Linked DNA regions of Homo sapiens: region 1 is linked to region 2. Evidence: promoter capture Hi-C in human tissues and cell types (Jung and others, 2019). All regions are on one chromosome and are shown on one strand. Each heading gives the region's core, a stretch centred on a gene start or on the middle of the fragment in contact. The rest is flanking DNA. Distances are from core to core; before and after follow the strand shown.

Region 1 (6,727 bases), core at 1,956-4,455, 46 kb after region 2:
CAAAATCTTACAGGCTCATTTATCCCTGTACATGATTGATAACAGCATGGGTTAAATGGAGAAAGCTTTGCTTCCATTAAAGGATCATCATGAATGAAGACCTCCCACTTAAAAGTCAGGCATGATGAGAAGACAAGAGACTATCTACAGGTCAAATTAAATAACTTAAATAATTTAAGTAGAATGACAGTGTAATTTGTCCATTCTGTGTTATTACTCTGACCCCTATCAGGATTATAGGCTAACTTACTTTCCACTGTAGAGTATTTAAGATGTAATTTTTAATAAATACTTCCAAAGACATAAAAGCCTTTATATCTCTTAAACTGTGAAAAATATAGATTTTTATTATGTACTTTTGAAAAAAAGCTTTTAAAAAAGCTTGTAATACTTATATAAAATAAATAATATGATGAATGCTGAAATGATGCTTTAAGCATTTTATAATATTATATTGGCCTTATTTTAAAATATATTTTAATAATGAAATATTTATTAATAACAAGTATGTTATAAATATAAATAATATATTTATTATATATTATAATTATATAAATAATATATTTATTATATATTATAATTATATAAATAATATATTTATTATATATTATAATTATATAAATAATATATTTATTATATATTATAATTATATAATAAATACTTGAGTATTATAAATAACAGATTTATTGTTATAAATTACTATAAATAAATGAACTACTTACAAAAGTTCATTAGTAACTATTTTATGCCAAATGTTAAAAATAAAGATTCAGTAAGCATTTCTTAATGGCAACCCTTCTATATGGAATCACTGTTGGAGTTTATTCAAATTGTGTTTCAGGATAGGGGAAGGCGTATGCATTTTTAGATATTTCTGTAATAAAAGCAGTACTGAAGTGTAAGAATATTTTGATCTGTTAAAAGTAAAATATAGATGAAGCTTCAAATTAAATATTACATGTCTTTTTAAAATTACAAAAACAGCATGTTTTATACATATAAGCATTTACATTTCTTCTTCACTGGTTTCTGAACCCTTATGTAAAACCAGGTCTTTACATATGTTACCTTAATTTAATCATCACATCCTGTGAAATAAGTATTATTATCCCTGGTATTAATAGATGAGGAAACTGAAACCTCCTCTGTGTGAGAAGTCACACAGCTAGTAAGAGGAGAGAATTTTAATCCATATCTGTTGTGGATTCTGTTATAGGAAGCTACAAAAATGCATATTTCTTTTTCAAAAGCACATAACAAAAATCTGTACTTTACCACAAAACTTCAAAACTGGTGCACTTCTGCCAGGCATGGTGGCTCATGCCTGTAATCCTAGCACTTTGGAGGCCGAGGCAGGAGGATTGCTTGAGCCTAGGAGTTCAAGACCAGCCTGGGTAACATAGTGATAGCCTGTCTGTCTCTAAAAAAAATAAAAAATTCACTGGGTATGGTGACACATGCCTACAGTCCCAGCTACTTGGGAGGCTGAGGTGGCAGGGTCACTTGAGCCCTGGAGGTCAAGGCTTCAGTGAGCTGTGATCACGCCACTGCATTCCAGCCTGGGTGACAGAGTGAGATCCTGTGTCAAAAAAACAAAAACAAAAAATAAAAGAAAAACTGGTGCATTTCTCACCTTGTCAAGCTGTCTGTAACAGCATCGTAAAACTTTTTTTGACAGTGAGCCACTGTAAGAAATACATTTCACATTGTAATCTGGTATACTTATATGTATTTACATTTACATAAAATTAAAACAAGAGTTTTATAAAACTTACCATATGTGAGGAGATTGCTGGTCTATTCTAGTTTAATCTACACTGTTCTGTTCTTTTTTTTTCCTGAGATGGAGTCTTGCTTTTTTGCCCAGGCTGGAGTATAGTAGCGCTGTCTCAGCTCACTGCAACCTCTACCTCCCGGGTTCAAGTGATTCTCCTGCCTCAGCCTCCCAAGTAGCTGGGATTACAGGCGCCCACCACCACGCCTGTCTAATTTTTAGTAGAGATGGGGTTTCACCGTGTTGGCCAGGCTGGTCTCGAACTCCTGACCTCAAATGATCCGCCTGCCTTGGCATCCCAAAGTGCTGGGATTACAGGCATGAGCCACCGTGCCCAGCCTGTTCTGTTCTATCATTATAAGAAACTAAACTGATTTCATATATCTTAGTCTAAGGGTTCTGTACCAACTTAAAACATATACAATAAAATTTACTCCTCCATTATATGTTATTTACACTGCTTATAGAAAAGGAGAATGAAGAGGACAAAATCATTTATACTTTTCTTAAAATAAAGTTTGTTCAGAAAAAGATCTCTCCTGCCATTTCTTCCTTTTCAGAGCAATTACTTCAAGCTATTTTAGCTGATACTTTAGACATTTACTTCCATATCTTTAAATAGTATGTTTGTAAATGATACTTCTTGATTTTCCAGTTTTACCCATTATCTAATGCCTTCCCATGATGGAAACTAAGGATTTAACTTTCTTTTGTCTTTTGCTCTAACTTCTCCTTCTTCACATCCTCCATAAACGGTTGTAGCATACTTTTTATTATATCAGCAGAGTAATAACATAATCATAAATGTGGTTCACAGCTGAACTATTGTAATATTCTGTGATTATTTTTCCTTACCACCTTGGATTGTCTTATTTTTCCCCATTGCTTTCTTTTTTTTTTTTGAGACGGACTTTCACTCTTGTTGCTTAGGCTGGAGTGCAGTGGCGCGATCTTGGCTCACCAAAACTCTGCCTCCCAGGTTCAAGCGATTCTCCTGCCTCAGCCTCTTGAGTAGCTGGGATTACAGGCATGCACCACGACGCCCGGCTAATTTTGTATCTTTTAGTAGAGACGGGGTTTCTCCATGTTGGTCAGGCTGGTCTTGAACTCCCGACCTTAGGTGATCTGCCCACCTTGGCCTCCCAAAGTGCTGAGATTATAGGCGTGGGCCACTGTGGCTGGCCTGCTTTCTTTTTAATGTATTAATTACTAATTCAACCCCAGACTTCTCTCAGTTACCTAAAACTTTTATGAGTAACTTAAAAACAGTTGATAATCTATTAATACCATTGTGTTGAGGAAGTTGCTGCCAGAGCCTATTAAACCACTTTAATCTGGACTGGTTGCTCTCTGTCTTCGTACAGGTGTCCTCTTGCTGTCCTCCACCGTGCTAGGGTTCCTTTCCTCTCTTTCTTGCCTATGCAAGATTGCTATAGAATAAATATTTGTGTCTCCCCCAAATTCATACGTTGAAACCTAATCCCCAGTGTGGTAGTATTTGGTGGGGCCTTTGGGAGGTGATTAGGTCATGAAGGCAGAGTCCTCTTGAATGGGATTAGCACCCTTATGAAAAGACCCCAGGAAAAAAAAATAAAAATAAAATAAAAATGCCTCAGAGAGTTTCCTCACCCCTTCCACCATGTGAGGACACAGGAAGCAGGACCTCACCAGACACTGAATCTGCTAGCACTTTGATCTAGGACTCCCCAGCTTCCAGAACTGCGAGAAATAAATTTCTGTTATTTATAAGCCACCTGGTCTGATATTTTGTTATAGTCATCTGAACAGATTAAGACAAGGATCCGCTGTTTCCTGGATCCCATGCCTTTCTCTTCCTTAAAGAAATCCTTAAGGAGCTTCCTGAGAAAGGGTGCATAGAAGGTAAATTGTTTTGGATACTGCATATCTGAAAATATCTTCTATCTTCACTGTTGACATGGCTGTTAAAATTCCAATCTGGTAATCATTTTCCCTTTAAACTGAGGGCTTAGTTTCTTTATTCTAGCTTCCATTATGGATATTGAAAATTCCAGTGTAATTCTTGATCTTTTTTATGATTTTTTTTTTCCTTTCTGGAAGCATATAGGATCTTTTCATTTCCTCTAGTGTTCTGTTATTTCACCAATGATGTGTCTTGGTGCTGGCACTTGATGGGTTCTTTTAATATGTGAAGTTATATTTTTTAATTCTGGGAAAATTGATTTAGAAACTTTTTGATGATTTCTTCTCCAATTTCTTTGTTCACTCTTTCTGGGACTTTTAGGGTACAGTTATTGGGACTTCTGGATTAATCCTCTAATTTTCTAATCTTTGTTTCTTCAATTTTCTATTTCTTTGGTTTTTTGCTTCTTTTTGCAAGACTTCTTTAACTTTGTCTTCTAATCCTTTTATTGGATTTTTCATTTCCACTATCTTAATTTTTATAAGAACTGTTTCTGTGAAGCATCTTTTTTTTCATCAATGTAATATACACTCATCTCTTCATAAGAAAGTTGATGCTGTACTGAACACTATGGATAAGAAAATAATTTTTAAAAGAGTGTTAGTAATATTTCTTTTGAAAGAGTTTCCTTTGCTTAATGTTTGCTTCCTCTGAATTGGCTTTTAAAATTTCAGTTTGTTTTAATCTTTGTCTTTTAAATTAGACACTTTCCCTTAAAAGTCTATTGGTTTTTCACTCTTTGCTCTGTATTTAAGAATGGGGCACCAGAAAGTGAATTGGAGGTTATGTATGCATGGATATAGCCTATTGACTATGGTCTTCATCTTAGGGTTACCTGACTAGAACATTTTGTGAGGAAACTCCTGTTATCATATTATTTGTGTCTTTTCTCTTAGCCTGGTCAAATTCCCTAGAACAGTGGTCCCCAACTTTTTGGCACCAGGGACTGGTTTTGTGGAAGACAATTTTTCCACAGACTGGGGCTGGGGGAAGATGGTTTCAGGATGATTCAGGCACATTACAACTTATTGTGCACTTTATTTCTATTATTTTTACATTGTGATATGTAATGAAATAATTATACAACTCACCATAATGTAGAGTCAGTGGGAGCCCTGAACTTGTTTTCCTGCAACTATGCTGTCCCATCTGGGGGTGATGGGAGACAGTGACAGATCATCATGCATTAGATTCTCATAAGGAGCATGCAACCTAGATCCCTCTCATGCACAGTTCACAACAGGGTTTGTACTCCTATGAGAATCTAATGCTGCCCCTGATCTGACAGGAGGCAGCTCAGGTGGAAATGCGAACAATGGGGAGTGGCTGTAAATACAGATGAAGCTTCACTTGCTCTCGTGCCATCGCTCACCTCCTGCTGCGTGGCCTGGGGTGTTCCTAACAGGCCACGGACCAGTATCAGTTTGTGGCCTGGGGGATGGGGACTTCTGCCTTAGAAAACACACACTTCCTTCCAATCTGCTGCCTCAAGAGCTATCTGGCTGTTAGCAGCTATTGGAGCTGTGGAGAAGAAAGACTGGTGGGTATCTCAACATTTAATATACACATTTTTCCATATAGTAGCCACCCCTGACCCTTTCTCAACTGCACCTGGTATCCCAATAAACCCATTCCAGAGGCTCAGTTTTGTCATCATCAGAACAACTTCCAATCTTCTGCCCAGGTCAGAGAGGGTTCTGCCTAACCAGAAAGAGAGAGGGAATCTGTGGGTCTTCTTAAACACACTTTCAAGTAATCATCCTGTTTTTGGCTTCACCTTTACCTTCACCTTTAGAGGTACCTGGTATCAGCAGACTCTGTTGGCAGGGGAGGGGAGAAAGAGGAGAGAGTGATGTAAATCAAATTGCTTCTCAGTTTTCCTAGCTTTCTCAGGTGCAATAAAGATTTCTACTTTTTTATCTGTCTGCCAAAAAACAGAGTTTTATTGTTTTTGTCTTAGATACCATTCTGTTTGTTCTAAGGCTTATGCCTTAAATCACCACTGTCATTTTAGTGGAGTGGAACTAAATACCACTGTTCAATCCACTATCTTTAATTAGAAGACTCTGAGTCCTGTTTTTATTATTATTGATGTTTCTAACAAAGTGTTAACATAAATATTTTTGTTATAAACTCCACAAACACTTTTTCTTTTGAGACAGGGTCTCACTGTGTTGCCCAGGCTGGAATGCAGTGGCATGATCTTGGCTCACTGCAACGTCCGCCTTCTGGGCTCAAGCAATCCTCCTACCTCAGCCTCCCAAGTAGCTGGGACTGCAGGCATGCACCACCACACCTGGGTAACTTTTAAAACTTTTTGTAGAGATGGGGTCTTGCCATGTTGCCCAGGCTGGGCACAAACTTTTGAGAGGCACTATAATATAGTGGTTAAGAGTACAACCCTGGAACCAGATTGCTGGGTTCATGTCCTGGTTCCACCTTCCTGTATATCCTTGGGCAAGTTACTTAATCTCTCTATGCCTTAGCTTTCTCATTTAGAAATGAAAATGGTAACAGTAAACATCTCATAAAGTTGTTTGGAGAACTAAATATGAAGTGTTAGAAGATAGTTTTGCACGTATTAAGTGCTCAACAAACATTAGCCGTTATTATTTAAGTGGCTACATATATTCAATTAGATAGTGATAACTTAATTGGCTATTTTTCTATTACTGAACATTTAGGTTGTTTCCAACTTTTCTTTCTTGTTTTTTATTAGTAAATATTTTGTTGTAAACATCCGTTAACATAAAACTTTTTCTGCATCTAGGATTTTTTTCTTTTGAATAGATTCTTAGAAGTTGAGTCAGCATAGAATAGTGTATGACTTTTGAGACATTCTAAATTGTTTTTTGAAAGGATTGCTTCCATTTACATGTCTACCAGAACTATTTGAATGCCTCTTTTACAATTTTTTTTCTTTTTACTAGCACAGTACTCTTATTTTTAAAAAACTTCGGCTAATTTTATAGGTAAATATGTTATTTTATTTATTTATTTATTATTATTAT
Region 2 (7,001 bases), core at 3,614-6,113:
AATGTGCTGTAAGTGTAAAATACACACAAGGATTTCAAAGACTTGGTGTTAAAAAAAAAAAGAATGTGAAATGTCTCCATAATGTTTTATATTGCTTATATTTTAAAATGGTGATATTTCAGACACAAGATTAAATTAAATACATTCTTAAAATTAATTTCACCTATTACTTTTTAGTTTTAAAATGTGGCTATTAGAAAAATTTAAATTATGTATGTAGTTCACATTATATTTTGGGGGAGCAGCAATATTCTACAGTGTCCATTTCTATATTATAAATAATAGATAGGGGCTATTTGAACCAAGCAGGAAGCTACAATGGGATAATTGGTGATAGTTGTTTTAAAAAGTATTCTAAAAGGTAGATAGAGGGGCTAGTGTGATGAAATATTTCTATTCTGTTTCCTCCTTTGTCTTCTTGTAGATTTTATATTACCACCAAATGGACATAGAATGAAAAATTTTCCAAGCCTCCATCACCCCTCACTGGGATTCCTACAATGGTCTTCCATGGGTCTCCTTGCTGCTCTACCATCTGTTTTTAACATAACAGCCAAAGAGGGCCCTTTAAAAGACAAGATAGACTGTTCCTACTTTGCTTTTTAAAAACCTTCTAACAGCAATTCCACCCCCTGCAGAGTAAGAGCCAAAGTCATTACAGTGGCTTACAAGGCCCTTCTCTGTCTGGTCCCCAAGCCCTTACCTCTCTAACCTCATCTCCCACCACTATCCCTCACGTATTCTGTTGTAGCTATGCTGGCTTCCAACACACCTGGTTCTCTCTGGCCTTTGTACTTACTGTTTCTTCTGAACAGAACTTTCTTCTTTCAGTTTGCTCTCTCACATCCTTCAGGATTTTGTTCAATGCTACCTTGAAACCCCATCCCTACCCACCCCTGGCACTCCCTGTCCACACTCTGCCTTTCTCCATAGTACTCATCACCATCTGGTTTTCTATATGCTTTACTTATTTGTTACCACTCTGTTCTCCTCACTAGAAGAAAAGCTCCATTAAAGCAGGGATGTTGGTTCTTGGCCCATAAGAGGTGCTCAAAAAATTACTGACTGAATGAACAAACTCAACTTTGCTATAGTGGGAGGAAACTCTTGGACCTAAAGTCTACCAGTTGAAGCAATTCATAGGTATAGTCTGGTGTTTCTCAGCTCGGCATAGGTTTAAAGTATAAAACTATTGATTAAGCAACCCATAGCCTGCCTCACTTAGCTATACTTACTGCATGAAATCTAAGTTCAGAATGGAGAATTAGATATCTGCCTCTGTATACTTCTCAAATATGTCCAGATCCTTACATTTTATTGGCTAAAAAGAGCAGTGCCAAATTTCTCATGACAGTCTTCTGTTCCAGTAGGTTGAGTTATTAAAAATACAACCCCATGGAACTCAAAAGCTACTTTGATAGAGGAAACAGAAAAAGGGAGAGCCACAAACATTTTTATTTTTCCTGAAATAATATTTATGCCAATATCATAAATATGATATTTATGATTAATCATGCTATTATGATTAACACTGTATTAAATCCGCCTTCCAGGGGCTGCTGCTTGCCACTTCCCTGAGTGTGCAAGTTCTGATTCTGTCACTGACTGACTTTTGGTGCCAGATCAAATTTTTCCCTGCATCCCTTAGGATCTCAGGAGAAATATTGTCTTTTGTTACTGGATTCTAAGTAACCCTGAACTTGCTTTTAATTGAAAGGAAGCAAACTTCCCTGCCCTTGAAACACCCTTGGCTTTTAGCAAGAGCTCCTATTTTCCCCTTGACCATGGCTGGAGGATGCAATGGCCTTGGCTCTGCTTCCTTAGATTCTCTACCCTTCTCTATTTTTCCTGTCTTAGACTATCCTAAGAGGCTGTCCATGCATTTCACTGCTATAAATTCACCAACCCAGATATTCCGTTCTTCTCCTCACTTCTATCTCCTCATGTTTTCTAAATAGCTCCTTTTCAGTCATTTCAACTCTACCGTCATGCTTTATCAGATTTTAGGGCCAGGCGCGGTAGCTCACGCCTGTAATCCCAGCCCTTCGGGAGGCCGAGGTGGGAGGATCACCTGAGGTCAGGAGTTCAAGACCAGCCTGGCTAACATGGTGAAACCCCGTCTCTACTAAAAATACAAAATAAATTAGCTGGGACAGTGGTGCGCACCTGTAATCCCAGCTACTCGGGAGGCTGAAGCAGGAGAATTGCTTGAACCCAGGAGGTGGAGGTTGCAGTGAGCCGTGATCACGCCACTGCACTCCAGCCTGGGAGACAGAGCGAGACTCTGTCTGAAAAAAAAAAAAAAAAAAAGAATTTCACCAAAGGTCCTTTATTTCCAGTTACTTTTCATATCTCCATTTATTATAGCCCATTTGCAGATGGAAGGCATTGGCTTCTCTGCCATACAACTCTCTTGAGGCAGAGTTACTGCTACTCACTCTTTCCTCTGCTCTCAGTTCTGTGTTCTGGCTTCTGTTATACAGTTGATGGAGATCGTCTGTTTAACAAACACCCTGCCTCCCACACAGATGAAGATGTCCTCCAGGGCAGAGATTGCAGTCTTTCATTTCTATGTCTCCACCACACAGCACGGGGCCTGGCACTTAGCATGTGTTCATCAAGTGGTGACTGACTGAACAAGTTGTCTTTTCAAATGTGTCGGATCCCTCATTCACATTTCCACAGACATCTCCAGCCCTCCACACTCAAGTATGATCTCTAAATTCCTTCCATAGCTTGTGGTGTCCTTGAGACTGTCTTTTATTTATTTATTTATTTATTTGCTTTTATTTTTATTTTTTGAGATGGAGTCTCACTCTGTCGCCCAGGCTGGAGTGCAGTGGCACGATCTCAGCTCACTGCAGCCTCTGCCTCCCGGGTAGCTGGGATTATAGGCACGTGCCACCAAGCCAGGCTAATTTTTGTATATTTAGTAGAGACGGGGTTTCACCATGTTGGCCAGGCTGGTCTCGAACTCCTGACCGCAGGTGATCCACCTGCCTCGGCCTCCCAAAGTGCTAGGATTACAGGTGTGAGCCACCGTGCCGGCGAGAGTGTCTCTTATACCCGTGTCATGTGAATGAATGATTGCACTCACAATCATTTTAGGGAAGAGCATCTGATTATGGAACCTTATAAGTGCAACCTTCTAAGTGGACTTACATATATGGTGCAGCTTGAGAGGGACTAAAAAGGATCCTCTTCCAAAATCTCTCCCTCTCTCTCTAGCTAGCCTATCCAGTTGCTAGAATTCTGTCATCAGAGTTTCACGCCTTTGGGTTAATGGATTGTTCTAGCTCAACACACACAAACACAGCTGTATTAATCATTAATAAAGTCAGTTAGGAGTACTAGTGTAACAGATCCTTCCCAAATGAAAATGAGCTGAGAATCGGATCTGATGAGAAGGGATAAGAGACAGGAATGTGTGGGGACGTGGATCCAGAGTACTGACACTGAGTGGGGAAGCACCATGAATAGTCAGGGAGAAGGATGCTGAGAGACAGAGGCTTTTTTTTTCTTCTGGTTTTACTAGGTTAGGCTTTTAAGATATAGGCAGGAAACAAACTGTTAATGATCTGAAACCTAAAAACTGTGGACTTCCAGGTTAGCAAGCCCCAAACCTAATCTTTTCTCAACTAGCTGCTTTTATCTAGACAACTAGACCATCTGAAGTCAAAAAGGACCTCAGAGATCATTTTACGCCCCACCCGCATCACTTTTACAGATGAAGACATTCAAGCCAAACGGGATTAAGTTATCTCGCCCAGGGTCTCGCAAGTCCAGACTAGATCCTGGACTCCCCGTTCGCCTCTCCAGGAAGAACAAGTAATTATGCTTATTATAATCGCCACACAGCTTCATCTAGAGAAATGTCACTCACTGATTTTCAGAAGCTGAAATAGGTTTTCCATTCAATTAACCACAAACTAGGTCTTACGTATATACTTATTAAAGGAGACTCACAGACATCAAATTCTATAAATTGCAGTTAAAGAACATAAAAAAACACAACCTTGCCAAATATGCCACAAATTAAACTAAAGGATATTTTAGTGTTTCTATGATTGCTGGGGGTATGTAATTTCAAATACTGCACTTTCTCACTGAGATCTGTGCTATGCGGCTCTGGGTTCCAGGGACGTTTTAGTGCTTACCTTCTTCTCCCGCATGCTTAGAAGCCTTTGGACCTCTTGCGCAATGAGGAAACCCCAGGGTAACTGTGGGCAGTTGGCTGAGTAGAACCAGAAGCGTAAACATAGTCTGGCAACTGTCAAACAAACTAAAACAAACAAAAAAAAATATTAAAAAAAAAAGGCCCCTAGCTCAGCACTTTGAGTTTCTGTCGAACTGAATCACCAACCTGTTGTACTCAAAGCCTAGGCGCAAGAGCGCCCGGCGCGCGGTTTCGGTCGCCGGAACCCGACGCGCGCCCAGGAAGCAGCCCCTGAGAGCGCCTGGGACAAACGCCGTGCCCAGTGACCCTGCCGAGGGCTGATCGGGCACCTGTCGCCGCGGGCAACCCTCGCTATGTGTTCGAATCCAACCCAGTCCGCCGAGGTGGCCCCTTCCAGGTAACCCCCTCCCCGCCGAGGTCCTGCCGCCAGGCCTCGTACCTGTGTCCCCCCGCACATGTTCCAGCAGCCCCCGGGCCAGAGGCTCTTCTTGGGGCGGTTCCTTCGGCCGCCAGGCCCTCGGTCTCCGGCGCCCTCAAACCTCGGCGACGCTCCGGGCCTCGCTCTCCGCAGGGTCTGGATGGCCCCCGCGCGCAAACCTGGGAAGGGCCTGGGGTTCGCAGAGGGGCGCCCGGGGAACACGCGCGGGGTGAGGTCCTGCCTCGGTCCGGGGAGGCGGCCGACGGAGGACGGGAGGAGGCGGCTACCTGGGGACACCTGGCCGCGCCCCACCTCCCGGGGGCCGGGCCTACCTGCGGCGAGCGGGCGGGCAGTGGGCCGGCGTCTCCCGGGAGCCCGCGCTGCGCTCTCAGCCGCCCCAGCTTCTGCCCCATCCCCGGGCGGGCCAGCCGCCTGCCGCCAGTTCTGGCCCCGCCTTGGCGGCGCGGGTGGCTGCTTTTCGATTTGTGTCTGCACTCGGCGTTCTCAATGATCCTAATTCAGGAAGCATTTCGGTTCTCAGTCTTAAGCAGAGCGCCCTCGGCGCGTCCAGGGCTTTTCGCTTTGGGTCCCACTGGGCCAGGAGTCCTGTGGTTACCTTAGGTCAACTGTTCTCAAAAGGGTGGTCCGGGGACGAGGACAAGATATTCATCAGACAAAATACCCTTTATTCGTGATAAGAAATGGAAATGACCTTACAAGTAATTGATTACATTGGTTCTCCAATGGTGGTCCGCCAGGTCTGGGATGTCTCCAAGATCTTTTCCAGGGGTCTCTGAGGGCAAAACTATTTCCATTATAGTAACAATAAATGATTTGCCATTTTCACTTTCATTCTCTCAAGAGTGTACAGTGGAAATTTCCAGGGGCTATTTGAAGTGTAATAACGTCATCATTCTGTCTCCTAATAGAATACCTGAGTGAGCGTGCTTGTATTTTCTGGTATTTTCCATAGTAGTATGTTTACATTATCAGTATGTACATTTTATAGAGATTTATGTAGATTTATAGAGATTAATAAAATTTGTTCTCAGTACTTGTGAACTTAATTTTTTTTCTTTCCTTTTTTCTTTTTCAGAGTAGGGGGTCTCACTTTGTTGCCCAGGAACTCCTGGGCTCAAGAGATCCTCCTGTCTCATCCTCCAGAGTAGCTGGGACTACAGGTGTCCACCAACTCTCTTGGCTACTGCTTTTGTACTTTGATTAGTTCTATTTGTTCATATCTACTAGGATAGCTATAACCTCATTTTTCTGAAGTAATTATCTTGAAATCTTGATCTTTTCCTTGAGTCTATGCATAAACATAACAAAAAGTAAGCTTTGTTGTCTTGATTTCAAATAATATTTTGAAAATTTCTCAGTTTTAATGTTAGATAATAAATATCATTAGATAAAATTCACATAAGTGAAAGCTCTTTGGGGTCCTTGATAATGTAAAAGAGCGTAAAAAGGTCTTGATTAAAGACTTCAAAAACTGCTGCATCAAGTAATGAAGGCAGCAGGTGGACAGAGTACCTATGCCAGGTGATGGTCACATCCTTCTTTATCCAAAGAACGTGCTTAACAGTTCTTTGAAACACTATTTATGCTTTGGTCGAAGTGGTCTGGCACTTGCTGGGGACCAAGGGAAACATTTTTTCCCCCTTCATTTTTTTTTTTTTTTTCTTGAGACAGAGTCTTGCTCTGTCACCCAGGCTGGAGTACAGTGGCACAATCTTGGCTTACTGTAACCTTCGCCTCCTGGGTTCAAGCGATTCTCCTGCCTCAGCCTTCCGAGTAGCTGGGATTACAGGCATCCACCACCACGCCCGGCTAATTTTTTGTACATTTAGGAGAGAGGGGTTTTCACCATGTTGGCCAGGTTGTTCTCAAACTCCTGACCTCAGGTGATCCACCTACCTCGGCCTCCCAAAGTGCTGGGATTACAGGCATGAGCCACTGTGCCCGGCCTCAAATTTTTGACTAATTCAATTTTTACCAAATTCTGTTTTTCTCCTCCCAAAGGATATTGTCTATTTTATTATTATTATTGATAATCAACTGAATTATTCCTAAGTTTTCTGCAGAAATTTTGTTTTCACTGATTCCTTCTAGGCAGTGCTTTTCCTTTCCCTTCTTCCAATCCCTTCCTCTTCACTTTCCATTTGTCTACCTCGTGGTCTAAACTATTTCTATGATGGATTCTTCTTTCCCTCTTATTCAAGCAATTGGGATCAGACTATGAAGAGGCCAGACATGGTTTATTGTGGTTGAACACAAGAATAGGAAACATTTTCACTAGAACACCCATTTTCCTGTTTATTCATTGAGTCAACCTACAGCACTGAGACCTCCTGGTGGGGAGATGGACACCACAGCTTCTGTTGTGGAGGAGAACTTAATCTGACT

The links. Contacts are between HindIII fragments. The study calls those that stand out against the background at their distance.
Region 1: a contact is called between a fragment that was not itself captured here and the fragment with the promoter of PRRG4 in region 2, in 1 of the 25 tissues and cell types used here (adrenal gland).

The regions. Positions count from the first base shown.
Region 1 is chr11:32,780,279-32,787,005 of GRCh38, reverse strand. All of the region lies in intron 1 of CCDC73 (coiled-coil domain containing 73), which reads left to right. Among named protein-coding and RNA genes, the nearest start is that of CCDC73, 11 kb to the left of the region's middle. The HindIII fragment of the contact is 5,975 bases long and covers 218-6,192 here.
Region 2 is chr11:32,827,789-32,834,789 of GRCh38, reverse strand. It overlaps PRRG4 (proline rich and Gla domain 4), which reads right to left and starts at 4,863. Exons shown (of 6, transcript NM_024081.6): 1 at 4,617-4,863; 2 at 4,158-4,282. The coding sequence starts at 4,260. It also overlaps a transcript of CCDC73 not described here. RefSeq lists enhancers at 4,167-4,226, 4,237-4,286 and a silencer at 4,707-5,086. The HindIII fragment of the contact is 15,759 bases long and covers 1-7,001 here.